3 separate regions of the Homo sapiens genome follow, and regions 1 and 2 are each linked to region 3. Evidence: promoter capture Hi-C in 16 types of primary human blood cells and fetal thymus (Javierre and others, 2016). All regions are on one chromosome and are shown on one strand. The core of a region is centred on a gene start or on the middle of the fragment in contact, and the rest is flanking DNA. Distances in the headings are between cores, read along the strand shown. Region 1 holds the start of HOXD4 (homeobox D4). Region 2 holds the start of HOXD8 (homeobox D8). Region 3 overlaps METAP1D (methionyl aminopeptidase type 1D, mitochondrial).

Region 1 (3,655 bases), core at 309-2,808, 4.1 Mb before region 3:
GGCTGCCCTCGGGCAGGATGCTAACCTAGTCCGAGGGCGGCCTGCTTGTCCCAGGTCCACCCCACAGTACCTTAGAGCCCAGCGAGGTGACAGCAGGCCCGGCCTGCCCCCGCAGCTTCGGCTCAGCCTGGTGCGCAGGGAGAGATGGGCCCAGGGTCCCCACTTCTATAAGGTCGTCAGGTCCGTGTGGTGGTCTTTGGCCATCGGCTGTAAATGCTGGCTGGGGGCGACTGAGGAGGAGCAAGATGAGGAGGAAGATGAGGACGATGACCTGCCTTTAGTGTTGGGCAGCTTATGATCTTTTTTCCACTTCATCCTCCGGTTCTGGAACCAGATCTTGATCTGGCGCTCCGACAGACACAGGGTGTGAGCGATTTCAATCCGACGGCGCCTTGTCAGATACCTGTTAAAATGAAATTCTTTTTCCAGTTCTAGGACTTGCTGCCGGGTGTAGGCCGTTCGGGACCGCTTGGGTTCCCCACCGGTGTAGTTGGGGTTCACTGCGAGACAAAACAGACAGGACAGGCAGGTCAGCGCCCGGCCACTAGTTAGGCCCCTCGCCTCCGCCGCTCACTTCCTGGCGCGCCCCGAGGCCCGCGGCCCTCCCCGCGCGCTCCCAAGCTCGCTTGCTTCCTCCCTCCCGCCCTCTCCCCGGCGCACACGCTCACTCCCACCCACCTCCTCAAACACACCCACATACCCCAGGCTTGCGGGATCCCCAAATGTGCTCCTTCTTCTGGGCCCACCACCAGGTCCGGAACCCTCAAGCATTTTGGAAATCCCCCGCTCCTCCACAGCCTTCCCCCTGCTCTGAAAATGGAGTCCTCCCCCACCCCCCCATCCCCACCCCCTTTTGCGCCCACAGCCGAGCAGCCAGCCACATGGTCCTGACCTGCTCCCTCAGCTATAAAAATTTATGGGGAGAGTAATTGCGGCGCCCATGGAAGCTCCACACGCCCCCACCTACTCGCACCCCCTTCCAGAGGACCCAGGCTAACGGGCTGGGATGTGGACAGAAAGGTTACTGGACCCTAGCCTTACCCGAATTCACGTGCACCTTCTTCATCCAGGGGTAGACCACGGCCGGCTGCTTGAGTGCCGTCCCGGAGGGCGGCTGCTTGGGGTCGGACTGACTGTAGGCCCGGGCGCCAGGCAGGGGCGCCGGCGGAGGCGCCGGGGGAGCTGGGCAAGGCTCTCCTGGAGCGGCGTAGTGACCGCCGGGGCCGCCTGGCTCTTGTCCGTGACCCCGCGCAGGCAGCGCCGAGCCAGGCCCGGGGCCGCTGCCTCCGAAAGGCTGCTCACCGAAGTCGGGCCGTGGGTAGAGCCCCGGGGGCTGGAAGTCTGCGCCCTGCGCGCCGCCGCCGTAGTAGTCGGCGCCCTGCTCGCCTAGGTAGCCGCCCTGCAAATACTCCTCGCACGGAGGGAACTTGGGGTCCACATACTTGGAGTTCACCATATACGAACTCATGACCATTAATTTCAGAAGGTAGAAAATACTAATTTTTCTCGTGTTGTCTTTTTTTCTCCTTCCATAGGGCCCTCCTACTTGCTGTCAACTGAATAAAGTTGGGCAGCCATGTGACCAGGCCAGCCAATGGCGAGGGAGCAAGTTTATCACCGGGTTGGTGAGCATCTCATAATTTTCACAAATTTAACTAAATAACATACGTGTAATCAAGTAGCTTGCTATGGCACATTTGAGAGCCCCTGCCAGATATTAATGTAGTTCCAGTCCCCAGCACCCCATTCCCCTCAGGTAATCCCAGCTTTTGTCTGCCACTGATTTTGCCAACCTTCCGTGGCCCTTCCACTCACCCCCAGCTGAATGCAACCCCCGCCCCCCGACACCAAGTAGGCACAGCTCAAGGGAGAATGAATCCTCCTATTGGGGTACAGAGCAATGAAAGGTGGGTGGGTGAACTCGCCTCTGAGTTGGGCAGAGTGCCCCAGGCGAGGAGGGTTCCTGCCTGCCCGCCCTGCCTGCAGCCGGCGGGAGCAGGGATTCTGCCATACAAAGGCCGCCGTCCTGGCTTTGTCTTCATCAGGGTCACCCAAAAGTTACCAGAATCTGGCCAGCTTGAATCAAATTAGGCAATGAGTAACCGCCATGCTTTCTACCAGTGCCCAGGCCCGGGGGTTCCCAGCCAAAGCTGGGCCCTGCCAAAATAGCAGGGGGCCCTCGCTGCCCTTGCCCATGTAGCTGGGGGTGGGCTGGGATGGTGGCAAGGGCACCTCCACCTTGTCAAAATGCACCCTAGAGCTCCCCACTGGGCTTCTTTGAAGCTTGCTTTCTTCCCACAGGCCCCAAATACAAGCAAGCCCCCATTTGGGTACCTTTGCACCTCATGTTCCTGGAGGGCAGAGCTGGGACTGGGCAAGCTGGCCTTGTACCTCACTCCCTAGTACCCCAAAACCTAGCCCTTTGGCCCTGCATCCATGCAACCAATTAGGCTTGCATTCTCTCTTTCTCTCTCTCTCTCTCTTTCTCTCTTTCTGTCTTTCTTTCTTTTCAGCACCCAGAGGATACTCTGTTTAAAGGTGAGGAGCTTCTGGAGAGGAAAAGCTGCTCTATGTCACCAGGCGCAGCTGATCCTCCTGGAGTCCAAGGTAATAAAACAGAACGAGGCGGCTGACCAGCGCCGGCTGCTTCTAGTCTCCATGTCGCACTTTGGTCTCTGGCTATTCCGAAGAAACGTGAAGTTTTTGCATCGACCATATATTCCCCTAGAATCGAATCTGTGACTATACGGATACCACACAAATTCGGTTCTACAGGGTATATATAGACAACGTTACAACCTCTGGGTCCCACCCAGAGTGAGGTACCTAGGTCGCTGCCGGCCCCAATCTCTTCCTCTGAGCCACCACCGTTCGACGCAGCCACCCGCACTTTCTGAGACAGTTCAGGTAGCCTAATGGGCTTGGCGACAATTTGAAGCAATGAGTTCCCTCATTCTTCTGCCAGGGTCAGGGTTACCAAGCAGGCGAACAACCAGAATATTCTTCTTAAGAAAGAAAAAAAGAAAGAAAGAAAGAAAAATAATCCATCCCAAGGATGGCGGCTTTATTAACCACCCTCCCCCACCAGGATCCAAATAACCCTCCTCCTTACCAAGTGGTATTTTCCAGAAAGGAACAAATGCCCTCAGCGGCAGAAGAAAAAGAAGCGAGAGGGGAATATCCTGTGTCTACTCCTTTTCCTACTGCCCGACCAAGCCAGGTTGTCTGCCAAAGCTACTTCTCCAAGAAGTCGCGCATTTACCTTCATGGGCCCTGATCCGGGCTGGCCTCTCCGTTCCGCTGCTGCTGCAGACCCCGAGGCAGGCGCTGCTCACAGGCACCGAGCCGCCTTGGGCTGAGGCCGGCGCGCTAATGGTGAAGGGCAGGGCGAGGGGTCATTCGAAATCATTTACAAACATATCACAAACTTTCATTATTTTTGCTTTGCCGACAGCAGCACACAAGAGTACAAAAGTTCACAAATTTCACCCGCCCCAGCGCCTCGGCACTGTGCAGTGCTTGTCCCTCAGTTCAGGGCATGGAGAGCGCAGACTCACTCAGAGCCTCGATGGATTTCAGGGGCACAGGGATGCCCTGGCTCGAGTGGGGCTTTTGGGTGCCTAACTGTAGGCTGAAGGTGTTAGATTTTTTTTTA
Region 2 (3,679 bases), core at 230-2,729, 4.1 Mb before region 3:
ATATATATAGGGTGTGCAGGCAAGAGGAGCAGAGAGGTCTTCACAATTATTCTGTCCCCATCATCTTTACATGGTTCCTACTTTTTTAAAAAAAGTCTGTATTACTTTATGAATAAGAGCCACTGTGGCTACACAAGAAGGAAAAGGAGGGGGAGAGGGAACGGGAGTTTTAAAGCCAGAACGTGAGATGAAAGCAGATTTCTCCCCCTCTCCCTTCTTAAAAAAAAAATGCATCCCAACCTTGTGGTCTCATCCACGGAAACATTTGAGAAGGAGACGAGCTCTGATTTAAGTGGTCTGGGTCCTCGCCAATATTACCACTGGACGATTTACAGTCAGGATATTGTACCAGCTCGGCCTCTTGCTGGGTCGTAAAAATCGGCTGTCTCTGTAAGTTATCGTATCCGTAAAACTTCGCGGGCTCCCCGTGACAGGCAATCCCGCCGCAGGGGGGAGGTGGCGGCGGAGGCGGAGGATGCGGAGGAGGAGGGGGGGCGGCCTGGTAGGCAGCGGCCGGGCTGCCCCCGCCGGGGTGGAAGTACTCCTGGCCCCGGCCTTCCCTACCGCCGCACCCAGTCCCGGAGGGCGGCGGGGACGGGTGCGGGTGCGCGTGCGCCTGCGGGGGCGCGTGCGGGAAGCCGGCGGCGCTGTTGCCATAGAGCTGCAGGGCTGCTGCGGCGGCGGCGTGACGGCCGCCGACCTCGGGCGCGAAGTGACAGTCGTAGTAAGTGGGATTGATGGCCTCGCCCGCCGCCGCCGCCGCCGCAGCCGCCGCCTTGTACTTGGAGTACAGCGGGTTCACGAAGTACGAACTCATTGGGGCGTCAGCGGCGGCGGCCCCGGGCGGGCGGGCGGCGCTAAGCAGCCAGAGAGCGAGCCTCGACTCGGCCGCACTGCCGCGGGGGCCTGTGGGGCGGCTGCTCTCGCCGCCGGGACCGCCGGGCTACGTCGCTGCTGCCGCCCGCCCGCGCTCGCGCGTCGCTTCTGAGGCCAGGCAGCCGCGGGCGCTCAGCTACTGGGCGCTCATGCCCGGCTCTTGCGCCCGCCGCCTCGGCTTCGCGCCGCCTCCCTCGCGGGTCGCGGGGCCTCGCCCAGCCCCCGCGCGCCGCCGCCCTCCCGGCCTTTCCCGGCGCGCCCCGGCTCGGCCGCAATATAATCGCCGACGCCCCAGGCGACCTGCCCCGCTGCCTCCACTGTTTCCTCTCAGGCACCAGTGACTGAGCGCACCCGGACAAGAAAAAAGTGCGCTCGGCCCACGGGGACACTCTGGCCTCGGTTTACAAACCCCGGCTCTGGAGGGAAAAGAAAAAAAACACCCTCTGCCCGCCGCCACCTCTTACCGCGCCCCCCCCGCGCCCCCCTCCCGCCAATCTCGCCCCCGCCGCCGAGGCTGCCGACCCGGTGCGCACCGGCGAGGCATTTTCGCACCACAGCACTGCACGGAAAGTCAGCGTGACGGGGACGAGGAGCCCCGCGGAGGGATCCGCGCGCAGTTCAGTCGCTACGGCCGACGGACGGAGCGCCGCGCCCGGCCCGAGATGCCTCCGCCGGCCTTAAAGGGGGCCCATAAAGACGCACTGCCAAGGGCTCCGTGTGCCCCGGGGCCGCGGGAATGCGGATCGCAGCCGGCAGGGAGGGGCCGCGGCGGAGCCTTAGACTTGGGGGAGCCAAGGAGGCCACTCCCAGGAGGCTGCGGAGCAAATGACTGCCTCCCCGAGCCCCTGGCTGCAAAAGCAGAGGTTGCCCGTGGCTTTTGCAGCTCTGGACACGCGGGTGCAGCCCAGGGAACGTGGACAAGAGGTGTTGACGGACCGGACCGTGCATTTGAGTTGGGGCATATCGAAGTGGTTTAATTAAAAGCCGCGAGTGTGGCCCCAGATCCTGGCGTTATCAAAGCAAATCAAAGCCTTTCTTTTCCAGCCGAGCGGGCCCTGTGGAAATGAGATGTACATTTACCCTTGACGCACCGCAAGCCTGGCCGAGGCTCTCAGGTTAATTGATATTTAATGGAAATCATGCCCATGAATATAGTTTCCATCATTTCACCCTTGATAGACGTCAGCCCTGGGCGCAGGGGGAGGCTGAAGAATGCAGGAGGGGGCATTAGGCTTGCTGAGAGAGTAAATAGAAGAGCGGACAGAAACGTTCTGAGGCGGGAAAAAGGGCTCGCGCTGGGGAGGGTGACATTTCCTCGGGCAGGACGCGGCTCCCGGGTCTCAGCCCCGGCGCGCAGCGAACCAGGGCCGGCTGCGGTTCCCGGAGGAGTGCGGAGGGCAGACGACCGCAAGTTCCCCCCAGGAGCCTCCCAGCCGGCGTTCAGATCGCGCCGGTTCCAGGCAGCTGCAGGCGGCCCATCTTATGCTAACGATCCTACTTCCTCCGCCAAGCCTGTGAAATTACTGCCGAGAGAGCGCGCAGGCCTCAAAGTTACGAATTTTTCCCAAAGCAGAGAAAGAGAAGGCTCAGCCTAGTTTGTGAGCAGAGATGAAGAAAAGTTGCCCGAGTCATGTGGCCCAGTCGAGTGTGAATCGACAAAATATTCCCGATTTTAGCAGCTCTCTCCAAAGCTGTCTGGCTTTACCCTACCAACCGCCTCCCCACACACTTCCTTTCCCTCTCTGCTCCCGTTTCAATGTCCAATAAATGCAATGGTTCTCTGTTGTGTGTGTGTGTTTTCCCCTCTCCTGCTCGGCCTTTCTCGTGGGCTCTTTGGGTGACTGAGCCCCGTTTCCTTCGGGATAGGTACAATGTCGTGAGGGCGCCAGGCCCACAGCCTTGGAAATAGACCTCCAAGGCGCCCCTGCTCAAGCTAAACGCACCACGCCGGCTTTCCACACCAAATGCAAATTTCCGAAAACCCCAGACGGCCTCAGAGATGCTGCAGGCTGGCGAGCGATTTCAGCTACCCCTAGCTCCTTGTGGGTTGGCCCAGCCTGCGAGCGCGATCCTGACTTGTGTCCGGGTGGACTGAAATATCATTTTTACAAATGGAGAAAATGAGATCGAGATGGACAGACATAGCAAGGTGATAATGTCCGACTCAATTATTTCTACTGGGAATGACTGAAAGGTAAAGGAATCGTTAATGAATCTGGAGATGACAGAGGCATGCTTTATTTAATTTTTAAATTAGTAAGGAGTGCAGACTTGGGGTGGTGGAGAGCAAGGGTTTTTTTGTTGTTGTTGCTGTTTGTTTTTGTGGGGTTTTTTTTCTGCTGGTTATTGCCAAGTATAATGACTTTCTTTAAATCCGAAGGCGAACGAATTGATTCTGACAATTAAGGATTTGTCCTTCAATCTTGCAAATGCCCAATTAAAAGATTATTATTGTCAATAAAGCCTTGGAGCTACCTTTGTAATTGTGCCCCTTTTTTTCAGTTTGGCGTGTGTGTGTGTGTGTGTGTGTGTGTGTGTGTGTGTTTGAACCCTGGATAAATGAGTGGATTTTGGAATGGAATGGGGGGGGGGAAAATGAAAGAGCCTGGATCTCAACAATACCAGGCATCTTGTAGAACTGTGTGATTCCTCGGGGGAATAAAAGAAAAATGAACACTAGAAAATTCATTTATAGACATTCAGGCCAAATTTAGAAAACGTTACAACATTTCCTCTTGGGACAAAACAGTTTTTAACATTTATTTAAGCATTCCGTTTATAATATGAGTAGAAAAAGAGCGCG
Region 3 (3,663 bases), core at 720-3,219:
GTGCTCCGGGCAGGAATGGCCCTTGGCAGACAGAGCGTGGGCCCTTGGATTCCTGTTCCTGAAGCGGGATGGAACTGCCGGCCGAACTGGAGCTCAACTCGCAAGCTTCAGTCCCGGCCAAGTAGGCCCTTGCTCTCAAATGCGCCCGTATCTCCTCTCTCTGGGACCCTCTCGGTTTCCAGAACAGCTGACGTTTGCGGCTCCTGCAGCGTGCAAGCGCGGGTCCCGATGCGAGAAGGGCCAGTCTGGGGAGGGGTCATTTTAGAGACTAGACCGCCCACTAATCAGCCACTGTTCACACCTGGGCGAGTGGGGCCCAAGCTCGAATTCCTAGTGCAGCAAACGGTCTAGCGTGCGTGCGTGCGTGTGGGGTGGGTGGGGGGAGGGCCTCAAACTTCACCTCTGGACTGGCCTTGGAGGGCTGGATGTGGGCGGGGGAGGAAGAGCCGCAGGGGTCCAGGAAAGTCGCGTTTCTGGATTGACAGAAACCTGAAGAATGGCCAGGCCCAGAGTCCACTGCCAAGGACATGTTTGTAATCAATGCCTCTGTTCGCGGGCTAATCTTTCATCGCAAAGCCGCGATGGAGGGGAAAGATACGGAAGGGCTGGGGTTGGGGGCTGGCTTCTGCGAGCATCCTTGGGGCCGGCCAATATGGAATACACAAAAGGGAGAAACGGATTCTTAAAAATCCCAGTCAACAGGTTCGGATTTTTCGGCAGACGTGCAAAGTTCAGATACAAAGATCACTGTAACTGTCAGAGAGGTAAGGACCTCTGATACAATGGATTTAAGAGGTTTTTTACTCCAACAGTCAGGGCAAGGGAAAGAGAAAACCGTGCTTCTCTTGGAATCTCTTCCAACAAGGGGGTTTCCTCCAGTCCCCTCCAGATGCGTTGACCGCGCTGGGAAACCGAGTCCAGGGCCAGGATTTGTTTTTCCAAAGCCGCGCGACCCCAGCAGGGCTTCAGATCCGAGTTCCCAGTTGCTCTTCAGTCTCCCCCGCGTTCTTCCAAACGCTATCAGGAGCCACGCAGGTTACCGCACCACCGGTCATTTCCCTGTTTCTTCTAAAAGTTCTCCAGCCAAATTTCAGCAATTTATTTAAAAAGGCACCAGGTCACCGCGACCTTCGGGCGGCTCCTCAGGCCTCATGGGGTAGTTTGGTCAGGATCTGCGCGCCCCTCGACGTGATCAGAACCGTGTGCTCGAACTGCGCCGACCTGTAACACAGCACCCAGCCGTCAGAACGCGCACGCAAGCTCCGGCCGGGCCACAAGCGCGCCGTCGGACCAATCTTCCTTTCCCATACAATTTAAAAGCAACAGAGCAGAAAGCAAACACCTTTGATTGTCTAGGGAGACCACAGTCCATGCATCCTCCAGGACTTTAAATTCAGGGGATCCCTCCGTGATGATTGGCTCTGTAAGAGGAAAAATATTTACTGCAGTGACCTCATCAGATTCTTGTTAAACATTGTTTCCGGCTGATTATTAAAAAAGAGAAGTTTCTCCTCCCTCCCCTCAAGTGCTTCCCCCACAGGCTCATGTTGTCATCTTGCAAGGGTTGATAATTGATGTTGCTTACATAGTATACTACAAACTAAACAGTTGGAAGAGGAAACACTGCGCCATTCAAAATGTATGAAGTTGCCTAGTTCGTAATTTTTTAGAGAAAGAAGGGCATTTTAATCAAGCTTTAATTAGGACCCCGTGGATAATAACCACCCAAACACCAGTCCCTCTTATAAATACCAATTTTTAAAAAAATATTTAAATTTTAAAAACATGCTCGAGATGTTCATTCATCAGCAAATAACAATTTTCTTATTTCACTCTAATTGCTTCTCCATTAAGTCCCACAGTCAGAAACAGGATGTCTTTACGGCCCTAGGTGACTGGAATTTGGTGGTGATACCAATCACAGGATCAGCCAGGAACGGGCCACCAGAGAGCACATGCCACTTGCTGACAGGGAGCAAGGGACATAATCGTGTCTAGTTACTGGGTGTTAATGAAAAAACAAAACAAAACAAAAAACCCAACACCACATTATGCTGGTAACAGAATTAGAGGTTGGATGGCTGCCTTCTCCTAAATGTGTCGGTAAGTATCTGATTTAGGAAGATGGGGCTTGAGGATATTATTTAATCAGATTTCCAGTGCATCCGAATTATTTCATTACACTGATTGGCTTTATTGGTCCTTCACCGGACTGCCGGGCCTAGGCCAGTGGCAAAAGCTTCCACCAGGAGCTACGCACTCACTCGGAAGAGGAGCTCAATTTACCTATAGTGAATGCCATGCCCTCCTCCATGGGTAGATCACTGTCGTTTGCTGCAAAACAAAAAACATGGGGGGTGAGAATAGGAAATGGGGAGGACAGAAAAAAAAAACAGATTACAGGGGTCAGGCCCCTTTAAAAAACTTGGTCGTTTTATTTCTCTTCTTTTAGAGAAGGAAGGGTGGAGATTTCTGGAGTCCTGGATAGTGACCAGGAGTTAAACACGGGGCTACTGGGCCTGAGTCTTTGCATTATCTGTGCTCTGGGTCAAGACTCCCCCAGAAGAGTTTTCCAAGGCCTGGCAGGGGCAGCCTGGTTGTTTCAGACACGTCAGGCTTCCTCGCCCCCTCTCCCTGTCCCCCAGGCTACTAGGTCTCCCAGCCTACTACTGGGTCCTGGGCCTTGCCCACACCCCTCACTCAAAGAAGTCCTGGGGAAGGATGCAAAGGAGGGAAGCCTCCTTTGGTGCAGGTTGTGGGGAGCAGGGGCCTGACTTCAAATAGCTTCACTCCAGACATTGGCACCAGGTAGGGCACAAGGCTGACAAGCCGTTTCTGCACTCTCACCTGAACCTCTTGAGCTGCCTAGGTGGGGGCTCTTTGGTCCAAAGAGGGTTTGGACCTGCTGGGTGTCCAGCGATCCTCGAGGGCATGGGTCCGAAAGAGTAGTCCTTCTATGGACCAATCAAGTCCATAGGGGCACAGGTCAAGGCCCCAGGACCAACTTTCCTTTGATCCCCGTCCAGGTGTGGACCTGCCTTGAGGGTGCTCCACTGAGCTGCCTCCTACCTCAATCCAAATCCTCCCACCCCTCTGGGCCCACCCCTGTCTTCTCACTATAGGGTGCACACCCAGGCAGTGAAAAACAAGAGATTCTGGGGAAGGAAGACAAGGGTGGGCATAATCTAGAAATCACGAAGGAGTACATGCTGCTAAATACATCAGCTGTCAACGCTGTGTAGGATGTAATGAAGTTTAACCACAACAGTCAGCAGCTAGAAAAGGGGGTAGAAAAAGAAAAACAGAAACAGTCATATGTGCATGCTGCTGGGACACTGATGCAGTGGCGTTTTGTTTTCAGTAACTTTTTCTACACAAATATCCCTTGTGCCTTCCAGCCATGCACCCTTCAGGAGAAGACAGAGAGCAAAATAAACCTTATTTTGGGATTGAAACAGCTGGGCTCTAATCCAGTAACACAGTAATGTCCCGGTTAAAATTAAGCAGACCCCCCTCCCCTGCCCCCTGCACATAAACACACACACAAACACAAGGTTGATAATGCAGATTCAAAGTCAGAGGAAGAGCTTCAGGGTCAAAGCTGCCACATCTTGATCTCTGATCAAGAAACAGCCTCCAAATGAACTTTCTTACCATGATGCC

What was found. Contacts are between HindIII fragments. The CHiCAGO score rates a contact against its expected background, and 5 or more counts as called.
Region 1: a contact is called between the fragment with the promoter of HOXD4 here and a fragment that was not itself captured in region 3, in 1 of 17 cell types (total B cells). The highest score is 5.6, in total B cells.
Region 2: the fragment with the promoter of HOXD8 here is called in contact with a fragment that was not itself captured in region 3 in 1 of 17 cell types (total B cells); the score reaches 8.0 in total B cells.

What each region holds. Positions count from the first base shown.
Region 1 is chr2:176,149,453-176,153,107 of GRCh38, reverse strand. HOXD4 (homeobox D4) reads right to left here and starts at 1,558. Exons shown (of 2, transcript NM_014621.3): 1 at 1,042-1,558; 2 at 1-500. The coding sequence starts at 1,474. The coding sequence ends at 166. MIR10B (microRNA 10b) reads right to left here and starts at 2,805; the gene lies at 2,696-2,805. It also overlaps a transcript of HOXD3 not described here. RefSeq lists an enhancer at 1,106-1,839. The HindIII fragment of the contact is 3,668 bases long and covers 1-2,285 here.
Region 2 is chr2:176,127,505-176,131,183 of GRCh38, reverse strand. HOXD8 (homeobox D8) reads right to left here and starts at 1,479. Exons shown (of 2, transcript NM_019558.4): 1 at 241-1,479. The coding sequence starts at 817. It overlaps LOC100129455 (a long non-coding RNA gene), which reads left to right and starts at 656. Exons shown (of 1, transcript NR_187615.1): 1 at 656-3,359. The HindIII fragment of the contact is 7,912 bases long and covers 1-3,679 here.
Region 3 is chr2:172,077,886-172,081,548 of GRCh38, reverse strand. METAP1D (methionyl aminopeptidase type 1D, mitochondrial) reads right to left here. Exons shown (of 10, transcript NM_199227.3): 7 at 3,655-3,663; 8 at 2,287-2,334; 9 at 1,343-1,421; 10 at 1-1,221. The coding sequence ends at 1,143. Among named protein-coding and RNA genes, the nearest start is that of DLX1, 5.8 kb to the left of the region's middle. RefSeq lists enhancers at 159-688, 689-1,217. The HindIII fragment of the contact is 545 bases long and covers 1,697-2,241 here.